3 separate regions of the Homo sapiens genome follow, and regions 2 and 3 are each linked to region 1. The links are contacts of gene promoters, found by promoter capture Hi-C in blood cells and fetal thymus (Javierre and others, 2016). All regions are on one chromosome and are shown on one strand. Each heading gives the region's core, a stretch centred on a gene start or on the middle of the fragment in contact. The rest is flanking DNA. Distances are from core to core; before and after follow the strand shown. Region 1 holds the start of ERMP1 (endoplasmic reticulum metallopeptidase 1). Region 2 holds the start of AK3 (adenylate kinase 3). Region 3 holds the start of RCL1 (RNA terminal phosphate cyclase like 1).

What was found. Contacts are between HindIII fragments. The CHiCAGO score rates a contact against its expected background, and 5 or more counts as called.
Region 2: a contact is called between the fragment with the promoter of AK3 here and the fragment with the promoter of ERMP1 in region 1, in 1 of 17 cell types (monocytes). The highest score is 5.6, in monocytes.
Region 3: the fragment with the promoter of RCL1 here is called in contact with the fragment with the promoter of ERMP1 in region 1 in 4 of 17 cell types (naive B cells, total B cells, monocytes and 1 more); the score reaches 8.3 in naive B cells.

The regions. Positions count from the first base shown.
Region 1 is chr9:5,830,949-5,835,828 of GRCh38, forward strand. ERMP1 (endoplasmic reticulum metallopeptidase 1) reads right to left here and starts at 2,169. Exons shown (of 15, transcript NM_024896.3): 1 at 1,742-2,169; 2 at 1-80. The coding sequence starts at 2,079. RefSeq lists silencers at 1,736-1,955, 2,036-2,255. The HindIII fragment of the contact is 2,395 bases long and covers 988-3,382 here.
Region 2 is chr9:4,739,952-4,742,451 of GRCh38, forward strand. It overlaps AK3 (adenylate kinase 3), which reads right to left and starts at 1,251. Exons shown (of 5, transcript NM_016282.4): 1 at 986-1,251. The coding sequence starts at 1,136. RefSeq lists silencers at 781-920, 1,151-1,640. The HindIII fragment of the contact is 10,519 bases long and covers 1-2,133 here.
Region 3 is chr9:4,790,162-4,795,041 of GRCh38, forward strand. RCL1 (RNA terminal phosphate cyclase like 1) reads left to right here and starts at 2,783. Exons shown (of 9, transcript NM_005772.5): 1 at 2,783-3,066. The coding sequence starts at 2,931. RefSeq lists enhancers at 2,040-2,089, 2,910-2,959, 3,034-3,533 and a silencer at 2,470-2,829. The HindIII fragment of the contact is 3,785 bases long and covers 106-3,890 here.

The sequences.
Region 1 (4,880 bases), core at 919-3,418:
GGTAGTGCACGGTCAGAATTTCATTTTCTGGACTTCCTGTAGTCCTGGGGCCAATGGAGGTTATGTGTTCAAGATAATCCCTGGAAGTAACCAAAAGAATAACAAAGGTTTGTAGTTAAAATTGACACTTAGCGTGGGTAACTTTTCCACTACACACCCCTTCCTCCCCAAAAAAGCTTAGTTCTTTGCCTTATATAAAAGGGACCGCCTTTCATTATTTCAGACACCAAGTGAACATCACTTATAAAGTTCCATATTTTTATTGTTGCCTCCCACGAGTTGACCCCTTCAGTTTTCTCCACCATCCCACTCCCAACTTCTCCCCATATCAAACCAATACAAGGACTAGGGATGTATTCAAAACGTGTGACCACTGGCCAGGCACGGTGGCTCACGCCTGTAATCCCAGGACTTTCGGAGGCTGAGGTGGGTGGATTGCTTGAGCTCAGGAGTTTGAGACCAGCCTGGGCAACATGGTGAAACCCCATCTCTTCTAAAACTACAAAAACTAGCCAGATGTAGACTACTATCCGCCTGTAGTCCCAGCTACTCAAGAGGCTGAGGTGGGAGGACTGCTTGAACCTGGGAGGTGGAGGCTACAGACCCGAGATGGAGCCACTGCACTCCAGCCTGGGCGACAGAGCCAGGCCCTGTCTCAGAAAACAAACAAAAAAAGCTAAAGACTAAGCAGGATAGAATATAACTTCACTGTGCATACTCCTGAACGTTACAGATTCTGGGTTAATGACTTTAAGTAGCAGAAACCAATGAGCAAAAATAATCAAGTCAAGAGGTTAAATAAGGCGGGCGGGGGAAACTTTTGATGGACCTAGCCCTCCTAGCATACACCCAAGGTCTAATAACTTCAATTCAGGCCAAAACCAACTGTACCCCTAATGAAAACAAAACTGTTTTTGTCTTTTCACTGCATTCCAAGTGGGGAAAGCTGGAAGTGGGGGTGGGAGACGTTTCAGAAAGTCCTTAATAAGCTTGCAACACTTTGCATTCTAGCAAAAACTTTTTAGAACACAGTAGCTGTTGAAAACTTGACGCCAGCTTAACACTTCATGAGCTTTGACACACCTGGGTTACAATATCTTTGACTTAATCACCTTTCCTAGCATTCTTAAAGGTCTTAAAAAAAAAAAAAAAAGTCAAACCTTACACAGTCACTAATCCAAGGGGCCTAAAGATAAACTGCAGGGATCTGAGAATTTATCAGACTGCATACCAAATTTTGACTGGGCGGTGTTCCAGAAAGAGTTTCTATAGCCTTCAGATGTGGGGGCTGTAACCCTCAGAAAGTTAGAACAGTGCACTAGCGCCTTCCAAAACTCCCCGCCCCCAAAGCGAATTTATACAACAGTCTAGGTACACAAATTTCCATCTGGAAAGCAGAAGGGCTAAGCAAGGTAAAAAGGGGAAGCTGTTCCAGAATATGGGGAGACGACTCACAACCAACCATCTGCACGAAGGGCAGACAGTGGAAAGCAGGTTCAATCTACCTGGCAACCCCAATCTGCACCACGAGCTTAACCGGGGACAGGCAAGCCCCAAGTCCCGGCAATTCAGACCCCAGAAGAAGGACAAGCAAGGTCACCCCACCCCACGTGCAGCCTGGGAGGGGTCAGCGAGTCCCAGCGGTCCGGCAGGGGCGGGTGCACACAGGTGCGGTGCCCCGGAGCCTGCGCAGGAGCCGCAAACGGACGCGCGGGCCGTGCCAGGAGGGAGCGGCCGGTACCTGGCTTGGAGCGCGTCGAACTCCCCGCGGTGTCCAGCGGCCCCGCGTAGCACGAGCTGCTGCAGCGAGAGCTGCACCAGCGTCCGCAGCGCGATCAGGTAGAGCGCGAGCCCCAGCGCGGCGCGCACCTCAGACAGCCCGGTCCCCGCGCCCCTGCTCGCGCCGCCGCTACCCCCGGGGCTCCTCTTCCGCGTCCTCCCGCCGCCGCTGCACCCATCCACCAGAGGCTCCTGCGCTCGGGCCTCCCTCTCCGGCGGTGGCGCGGCCGCCGCTCCCTCTCGACGCTCTACTCCGACGCGGTGCCGCCTCACAGCAGCCGACTCAGAACCCCACTCCATGGCCACGAGCCTCAGCTGCCAGCCCAACCGCCCCAACCCGCGACAGCCCCGGCCGCCGCCGACGCCGCCGTCGCTGCCGCAGCGCCTCCTAGTGAGCGGACGGAAACTGCAGAGGGCCAAACTTCTTCTGATTGGCCCGTCCCGCCGCGCCAAGACCCAGCTTCTTTGGCAGTTCTCGGGTGCACACAGCTGCAGGGCCGACCCAGCAGCGGGTGGTGGATATGCCGTCTCCCGCAGGGCTTTTCCAGCCCTCTGTAGGACGGAGATTGCCAAATGTAAAGACACCTAAAAACCCAAAACGAGAAAAATGAGAGATCGCTTTTGAAAGAACACACAAGGCTCTTACAGTGCATCAGGCAGATGAAAAAAGCAATGACCTGGCTTTCGTAAGGAAGGAATATTAGAACATCAGGCTCCAAAAAAGTGGGTTCCTGGCTCTTAAAATTAGAAATAAGATTACGCAGAGGAGGCCCGGCCTATTGCTTTCACATGCATAATCTAATCAGATCTTCATAACTCAGCAACTTAATCTGTGCTATTACTGTCTCCATTTAACAGATAAAGAAAAATAATGGCTATTATTTATTGAATACCTGCTATGAGCTAAGCGCTAGGTCAAGTCCTTTAATACATCATCTTATTTAATTATCTTTAACAATACTTAAAAGGAAATATCTTTGTTCCCATTTTATAACCTGAGAAACGTAGAGATAACAGATGAAGAATGTAAATCTAATTTCATGGGCTCCCAAAACAGCATTCTGTTCCACTACTACATTAGCACTCTGCAAGTGAAGGTTCAGAAAGGCCATTCTTCACTTGACGACTCTCTGGGGCGGTTAAGCAGCAGAGCCTTGGTTTCAGTGCAGATCCTAGTGATTATCTAGTCTTCTTCCAGCTTGCCGGTACCCATGAGCCTCTCTGCTCCAAGGTTTTTTGTCCCTAGCTTGGAGTTGCTACATTAGCATGAGCATTAACCTAGAGACCAACTGGGAGAGCACACTGCCGGATTTTGACTTAGCACATATGTCAGATTTCATACAATGCCCTATAGTCCTGCTCTTGCCCACCTCTCAGGCTCCTCTGACACCAGGATGCTTCTTATTTCCAGCTCTCCAGCCACACTGGCCTCTTTCAAAGACTTCCTGCACGCATCTTTCCTTCTACAATAGGATCTTCTCACATGCTGTTTGAATTACCTGGAGTGTTCTTCTCTCTCCTCATTGTCTTTTTAACTCCTAGTTATCCTTTAAATCTCAGATTAAGTGGTACTTCCTCAAGCAAGAATCTCCTAATTTAATTAAGCTTGCTTCCCCTATTTGTAGGATCTCACAGCACCATGTTTGCATGTGACTATTTCATAACTTCCTCATTAGACTGTAAGCCCCACGAAGGCAGGAATCAGGTCTGGTTTTACTCACCATTTTATTCCTTGCTCTTAACACAAAGCATGACACATAGTATGTAGTCAATAGATATTTCTTGAGTGAATGAAAAAATGAAAACATACCACTTTTGTGGCAGCAAGCATAATTTTAGCTCTACAAGATCCCTTTCAGTCTGTAAGCACTATGAGACTAAAGACAGTGTCTATCTTATTTAATCATCACTGTATCCATAGTGCTTAGCTCTGGATAAGAGCCTAGCCCATGGTCATAACTATATGTATGTATATATGTGTGTGTGTGTGTGTGTGTGTGTGTGTGTGTGTGTGTGTGTATGTCTGACAATATCCCATGGTACCATAATAGGGAAATGCCTGGCTGCCTGGCTGTTGGGGACGGGTAGATCTGAGTTCCTGGATCTGGTACCTTTAGTACACATGGCATTATTCAAGTTACAATCTCACAGAGTCCACGTGTATTTATCTGTGGTAATGCAGATGATACCTGCCTTAAGGGGCTTCAGTGAGGATTAGATAGATAGACAGATGATAGATGGATAGATAGATGTGTGTGTGTGTGTGTGTGTGTGTGTGTGTGTGTGTGTGTGTGTGTGAAAGATCCTCACATAAGATTCTCATTAAAAACTATTTTTCAGAATTTTCCTTCTCATGAAATCCTTTGTAGATTAGATTAAAAGCTACTTTCCTATCATGATAATCATAGAACTCTAGGTGGTAGGAGTTAAGTTACAGCTGAGTTCCTGAAAGGCAGTTTTTCTCTATACTTGTATAGTCTACGGTATTCACGTTTGAATATTTTTAGCTACTAGTTGTTGGATATCTACTTGTGTCAGATACTGATTAAGGTGGAGAAACAGAGAAGAACAAATCAATGTTTCTACCTTCAGAGAGCTTACATTCTAACAAAGAGACAATGAACGCGCGCGCGCATGTGTGTGTGTGTATAAAATGTCAGAGAGTTAAGTGCCATAAAGAAAAATAAAGCAGGGAAATTGAGACTGACAAAAGCTGCTGTTTTATTAGGGTGATCAGAGATGGTCTCACAGTCTCTCTGAGAAGATGACATTTGAGGTGACCTGAATGAAGTGAGGAACAGGGCCACATAAGCCTGGGGAGAGAATGTTCCAGCAGAGGAAAGTGAGCTGGGATGTTCAGAGGCAACGTCGAATAAGGCATGCACTAAAGCAGACTGAGCCAGGAGCCCTGGTAGATGTGAGGTGACAGAGGTGGGTAGGAGCCAGTGCAAGGAAGGCCTCCTGGCCCTGGTGAGGACTCTGGGGTGGTTTTGAGCAGTGAAAGGTCATGCTTTAGGTGATGTTATATAAGATCACTCAGTCTCCATCCCAGGCAGAGCAGCACAGTGACCACATCTAGAACATATAGGCTTATAAAACAC
Region 2 (2,500 bases), core at 1-2,500, 1.1 Mb before region 1:
TTTCTAGAAGGAAAACTCTGTTCCCCTCCGAAGAATGGGACTGAGGTAGGGAACGAAAGAGGGCGTTGTTTTTTATGCTATGCACGTCTATCCTGTTTGCTATCCTTACAAAAAAAAAAAAAAAAAGAAGGAAAACAAAAGAAAAAGGCCTTGTGGAAGCATTATTTCTATGTAAATGGGTTTCAAAATGAGTTTCAAAACGGGTTCTATTTTGAAAAGTAAGGTCAACATTTTTTGAGAAAAAAACTCCTGCGATTGGCTTTTCAAAAACAACCCTCTTAAGAGAGAATTTACATACCACAAATTCACCCATTGTATAGTGTAGATTGTTAACTGCCTTTCGTGCCGAGCTGTAAGAATTTATTTGGCATGAGAAACAAAATATTTTATAGAACCATGCACAAGAATAGCCTTCGTGTCTACGAAATCTAAGGATATCAAAATGAGATAATTTTATGACTGCAACAAGGGTAAATAATACTTGGCCTTGGGAATATGGGGGAAAGGTCAGAACTACAAGATCTCATAGAGCTTAACCACACCAAAAAAGAAAGAGAAAAGAAAGAAACAAAGAAAACAAAACAGAACGAGCAGACTCTAGCAGGGCTAATGACAGTCTTCCAAAGGCACCAGCACGTTGAACAAGCTGCGGCTCAGCTCGATGGACCCCCAAGAGTGGCTGCCACTGGGAGGACTTGGGCCTCTGAAACAAAGCCCGGTGGTTTCCTTTCATCTCTGAACTTCGAGCTCGACCTAACTTTCCAGTCCCTTCCCCCACCGCCACCCCATAACCCGCCCGAAGCGGCCCACGGAGGCCGGAGGTTTTGGGGCGCAGTCGCTCAGCAGCCCGAGGTCTCTGTCCCGGGCGGCGGGAGGGAAATGCCGCGCCCGCAGCCAGGGACCCGCGTGCCCAGCTTCGGCCCCTCGCCCGCGAAGTCCGACCCGGGTGACAGCGCACGGCCGGCCCTGGGCCCAGAGCTCCCACCTGTGCCCCGCAGCATGTTGTCCCGGAGCAGGTCCCCGCTGGAGAGGTGCTTCAGCTCGAAGTGTGTAGTGATGCGCGACGACACGGTGCCCTTGCCCGAGCCCGGGGCCCCCATGATCACCGCTCGCAGCAGCCGCGCGGACGCCCCCATGGCCGCAGACTGAGGCCCGCACCGCGCGGGTACCAGGGCTTTGGCCTGGCCTGCGCGCTCACCCGCTCGGCAGCCTGCGCCGGCCGGCTAGCAGCGCCACTAGCAGGCGGCTACTGCGGTTCCCCGGCGTTCCCGGAAGTGAGCCGACAGCCCCTGGGGCCGCCCAGACAGCGCGGGACCCCGCTGTTGCGTCCGCCTCTCGGCTACCCCGGCGCACCCCCCGCCCCCGACCGAGCGCCTGTTCCCGCCCAGCCGCGCAAGCCGCGCAAGCCGCGCCCCCTCTGCGCTCGCTCGGCCGCCCAGCTCCCACCTGCGCCTCTCCGCGGCCCCTCTCCACCGGCCGCTGGGCCCGGATCCCTTCGGCGCCCCTCTGCACCCACCCCCACGCGCCCTCCACTCGGCTCAGATCTACCTCCGCGCCTCTCCGCGACCCCGGAACCCCGCGCCCTGTCCGGCCCATTCCCAGCCGGATAGACCGCGCTCCCCTCTGTCCGACCTTGGCAACTCCTGCGCGCCCCCTCCCCACCTCTAGTCGCCCCTCGGAGCCGCTTGGTTTCGGGATCCACCCGCATCCACCCCTCCAACAACCCTTTCGTAGCCCTCGCCCCTAGTCCATAGCAGGCGCTGCCCTACCCAGTCCTTGCCGGACACACCGCGACCCCTTTCGTGCTCCCTTGACAACCCTGGCCCCACCTCCACCTGGCGCCCACTCGAATCCGCCCCTCCCTTCTACCCCCCTGGACCGCCAGACCCCCCGCTTCTGCACCCACTCCCGCCTTCGCCCTTCCCTCCTTCCTCCTCCTCCTCTGCTGCCGAGCGCCCTCTCTTCCCACTCCCTCTCTGTGTAGAATCACAGGGAGTGACCTTGAGCCGAGAGGGCCTACCTCATTTTACAGGAGAGGAAATCCAGCTTCCATTGAGTGAGACTCTTTTATAAATAACGTAAAAGAGTGTGTGAAACTGTGGAGGCAGGCTGTTGTAGATAGGCGGTCGGAAAAGCTTTGAAGAGATGGCATGTGTGCTGAGTGCTTAATTAGAATATGGAAGAGAGAGACATGGGCCCTTCCTATGTCCAGTTTTAGGAAAAGGCCCTAAAACTGGAGGTTTGGCATGTTTCAAGAATGGAAACAGAGGACAAAAACGTTCGAGTGAGTATCATTTTGCCTGTAAAATGGGCATAGAGGAGTAGAATGGAGGAGTTAAAATAATGTAGTACTTAGTGCAATGCCAGCTACGGGGTCAATGTTCAATAATGGTTGTCCATTTATCATCATTGCTTTGTCCCGGACACTATGCTAAGGCAGAAAGAAGGCTCTCTGAAAATAAAACACAGTTACCATTCTCCTCAGAGGTCCAGAACTGAT
Region 3 (4,880 bases), core at 1,533-4,032, 1.0 Mb before region 1:
AATATTGGGGAAAATCTCTAGGACATTGGTTAGGCAAAAATTTCTTGATTAATAACCCACAAGCATACGCAACCAAAGCAAAAATGGGATCATATCAAGTTAAAAAGCTTCTGCACAGCAAAGGAAACAATCAACAAACTGAAGAGACAACCCAAAGAGTGAGAAAACATATCTGCAAACTACTCATTTTGAGATATCATCTCATCCCAGTTAAGATGGCTTATATTCAAAAGACAGGCGATAACAAATACTGGTGAGGATGTGGAGAAAATGGAACCCTTGTACACTGTTGGTGGGAATGTAAATTCGTGCAACCACTATGGAGAACAGTTTGGAGGTGCCTCAAAAAACTAAAAATAGAGCTACCATATGATTCAGCAATCCCACTGCTGCGTGTATACCCAAAAGAAAGGAAATCAGCATATCAAAGAAATATCTGCACTCCCATGTTTGTTGCAGCACTCTTCACAATAGCTAAAATTTGAAAACAGTCAAAGTGTCCATCAACAGATGAATGGATAAAGAAAATGTGATACATATACACAATATAGTATTATTCAGCCATAAAAAAGAATGAAATCCTGTCATTTGCAACAACATGGATGAAACTGGAGATCATTATGTTAAGTGAAATAAGCCAGGCACAGAAAGAAAAACATCACATGTTCTCACCTATTTGTGGGATCAAACAATCAAAACAATTTAACTCATGGAAATAGAGAGTAGAAGGATGGTTACTAGAGACTGGAAAACATAGAGGGGGTGGGGATGTTGGGGGGCAGGTGGGGATAATAAATGTGTACAAAAATTAGAAAGAATAAGATCTACTATTTGATAGCACAACAAGGTGTCTGTAGTCAACAATAATTTAATTTTCATTTAAAAATAACTAAAACAGTATAATTGTTTTGTTTGTATAATAACACAAAGAATAAAATGCATGAGGGGATGAGTACCCTATCCTTCAGGATGTGATTATCACACATTGCATGCCTGTATCAAAACTTCTCCCGTACCTCATATATACATGTACCATCTACCTACAAAAATTAAAAATTAAAAAAATTATATGGAACCACAAAAGACCCAGAATAGCCAAACCTGTCCTAAGCAAAAAGAACAAAACTGGAGGAATCACATTACCTGACTTCAAATTATACTACAGAGCTAGAGTAAACAAAATGGCATGGTACTGGCATAAAAACAGACACATAGATCAGTAGAACAGAGCGGAGAACGCAGAGATAAATCCACACAGCTACGGTAAACTCATTTTCGACAAAGTTGCCAAGAACATACTCTGGGGAAAGGACAGTCTCTTCAATAAATGATGCTGAGAAAATTGGATATCCATATGCAAAAGAGTGAAACTAGATCTCTATCTCTTGCCATTTACAAAAATCAAAGAAAAATGGATTAAAGGCTGGGAGTGGTGGCTCACACTTGTGAGGCCAAGGTGGGCCAATCGCTTGAGGTTAGAAGTTTGAGACCAGCCTGGGTAACATGGCAAAAACCCATGTCTATACAAAATACAAAAATTAGCTGAGCATGGTGGTGCACACCTGTAGTTCCAGCTAATGGGGAGGCTGAGGTTGGAGGATTACTAGAACTCGGGAAGTTGAGGCTGCAGTGAGTCATGAGCATGCCACTCCACTCCACTTTATAACACACTGTTGTCTACATAAGGCTAGCTACATCCCTTAATCTTAAACTCCCACCGCTTTCAGACACTATCATACCCCGCCCCCCTTCCCCCCGCGAACCCCCGTGCATTCTGGGACTCATGGTTTGGTGAGTGTTGTCCAGGAATGGCTACAAACCCACATTACTATGATATCGGACTTCTACTTGTGTAGTCATTTGTTAGTTAACTGTACATTTTGGAAGGTTTTTGAGTAGAGAAGTGAAATAATCCAACGTTTGGGAAGATTTTCTTGTGCAGGATTGGAGGAGGACGGGAAAGAGGGAAAAAGCATTGCGCGCGTGTGTGTGTGTGAAGTTATTACAACTATCTATCTTGAAGCATGCGAGGTAGGAGGGCCTGAATTGCCATGAAACGCAATGACGATAAACGAAGGGACCCGTGAGAAAGGGGCAAAGAGGTGTCTCAATAAAATAAGCAACGGCCTGCTGTGGGAGGATTCGGGTCTCAGTATAGGCTGCCACTGTCAGCTTTGCAATATTCCTCGAGCCTTTATCCATGAGTAGGACAGGATGGCTCTACCTTGCAGGGTTACAGCATGGAGCTGCGGGACTGCGCCGGCAGTGCGCTGAGCGGCATCCCTGCGATAGGGTGAGTGCACCAACCCTTGTTGTCTCTCTTAGTAAGAAAGAGGAGGGGTAGATAATAGCATCTTCACCCCAGTAGTTGCCGTAAGTAGTAATGCTAAGAATCCGGCACGTCGTAGGCATCAATCTCAGTCCGCCATCTCCCCTTGCTACCACGCCAGGAGGTACACAGAGGAGACTGCCCCGACTGGCAACTCCCGCGCCGGGGTTCCCTGGCCATCCTCCCGCGTTCCCTCCAGCCGCGCGCTGTTGCCAGGGCCCGGGCACCGCCCAGCTCCACTACGGACCAATGGCAGCGCGGCTTGGGCACCGCCCAGCTTCAGCGGAAGCCAATGGAGGCGCGGCGCGGGCACCGCCCTGATCCGGCGCGGGCCAATAGCGGCGTGGCCCGAAGCGGGGGCCGCCCCGGTCGGGCGGGGAGGCGGGGAGGTGGCCACTGGCTCCGCCCCGCTCCCCTCTGACCCGGTGTCTAGTCTCTCCGTCTTCCTGTTCCAAACCACGTGGACGCGTCTGGGCTGCTGGAGGCAGCCCGAGCCGCCGCCGTCGGTGTCGCCGCCACCACCACCATCGGAGTCACGAGTCCCGCGTCTGTCCGAAGTCGCCGCTCTCGGGCTGCTCACGTCTCTTCGGAGAGCGCGCACATGGCGACTCAGGCGCACTCCCTCAGCTACGCAGGGTGCAACTTCTTGCGCCAACGTCTGGTCCTGTCTACCCTGAGCGGGCGCCCCGTCAAAATCCGAAAGATTCGGGCCAGAGACGACAACCCGGGCCTCCGAGGTAACTTGGTGTGGGCGGCGCGCGGCGTGGGCGCGGGGGCTGAGGGGAGACCGAGCTGATGCCGTGGGGGCCCGCGCGGTGTTGGTTGGGCGGCTCGGCGTCCGGCGAGCGCGTCGGGGAGGGCAGGTGGCGCGTCGCCTCCAAAGCCGGAGGGGCAGGCACAGTGGGGGAGGCGGGGTCGGGGCCCGAGGGGAGCGCTCAGCTGCAAGCTGCGCTCGGCGTCTCCGGGGCGCTGGTAGTAAACAGCTGCACGTTTTCCAGCTTTACGTGTAGCAACAAATCCCTGGCGTCGCCCCTTCGCGTCCCTTCGGCCCCTCTTGCCCTCGCCATAAACCTCTCAAAGGAGAAAAACAGTTTGTTGGACCGAAATATGGTGAATGAGCCGGGGGAGAGACATTGGGAGAGAAAAGTACCTTGGGTTGGTTCTCTGCCCTGTCTCAAAGCAGTTCTCAGAAGCAGCTGCCCCCTTGGACACCGGCTGTTCCTGTCGCCATGATTTCTCGGCTGCCCTCACACTTGTCCTTGGGTGTGGATAAAGAAATTTTTAAAATTCTGTGTTTGTTTTCAGCCGTGACTGTGATTGATGTGCGCAGGACAGGAGCTTTGAGATAGACTTTTAACAGTCATGGGCCTAATTGCCTTGACTTTAGAAAAGGGGTCGGTGACAATCGCTAAACTGCAGGCTTCCAAGCTCACTTCTTGCTCTGCAATGGTAGGTTAAAAAGAAATAGGCCCATTTAAACCCACATCTCATTAAATGGCGCCGGTTTTCAACTGGCCTTGGTTTACACCTGGCCCCCTGGCATGAGATACATGCATTTAAAAGCTTCTGACTGGTGGTTATCCCAAGTTGGGCGAGTCAGTAGTCAGGTGAAAAAGGAAAAAACCTGTCTGTAAATTGAAAAAGAGTGTTTGTGGTTGGTCCTGGAAGCTTCCTGAGCGGCGCTGATGTGTTTCATTTTGCACTGGCTCTTGTTTTATCTGTCTGAATGCATTTTTTGGATAGTTAGATCTCTGCCTCTCTTGGGTGGTGATTGGCTGCACATAAAGGGCAGAAGATGCCATGCTATTGACGGAGATAGGTTAGGAAGGAAAGAAGCAGAATATCCCAGGTACAGTGGTGAGAAACCTAGTGATGGTAGGAAAAACTTGTGTTGGTGGTTCCTGTCCTCTCTCTACTGCTCAAAAACACTGAGAAAGTTAGGGAGAGACCACAAATGGTTTATGCCACGACTTTTCCGTCAACAAGTGTTCCACTTAGTTTGACCCTTGGGCAAAGTGTTTGCTTGATTGCTGTGTGGCATTCTCAGCCAGCTCTCCATCCACTTTACCCTCAGGTTAGCTCAGAGAACTTGCCACTAGCTGGATATGGTAAGAAGATGGACTTCTACTTTGTATAAAAGTAGGCATAACTTTTTTTTTTTTTTCCAGAGAAATGGAAGTATAGCCTGGAAACCTGGGTTCTCTAAAATGAATCTAGTTCTATTTAGAGTTTTTCTATTGACAGGTGGCCTCCAATTTAATATTTAATGTTCCAAAGTATGCTTCTCCTTCTCCCCCTCCACTGTATGTGAGCATCTCTTCAAAGCATCTCACACATATGAGCTCCCGTTTCTTCCAAGAACAGGGCTTGGCCACTTGGCACTTTCTTGAAAGGGTGTCAGACGCTGATACCTGAGGGAGGTAGAACTGCTTGGCAGGTGTGCTGGTATTTTATGGGGAACATTACTGTAGAGCATTATTTGCCTTACCCCGTTCATATACCAGGGGAAGAAAGAGACTCCTAGTTATTTGTACATCCTTGCGCTGGCTTC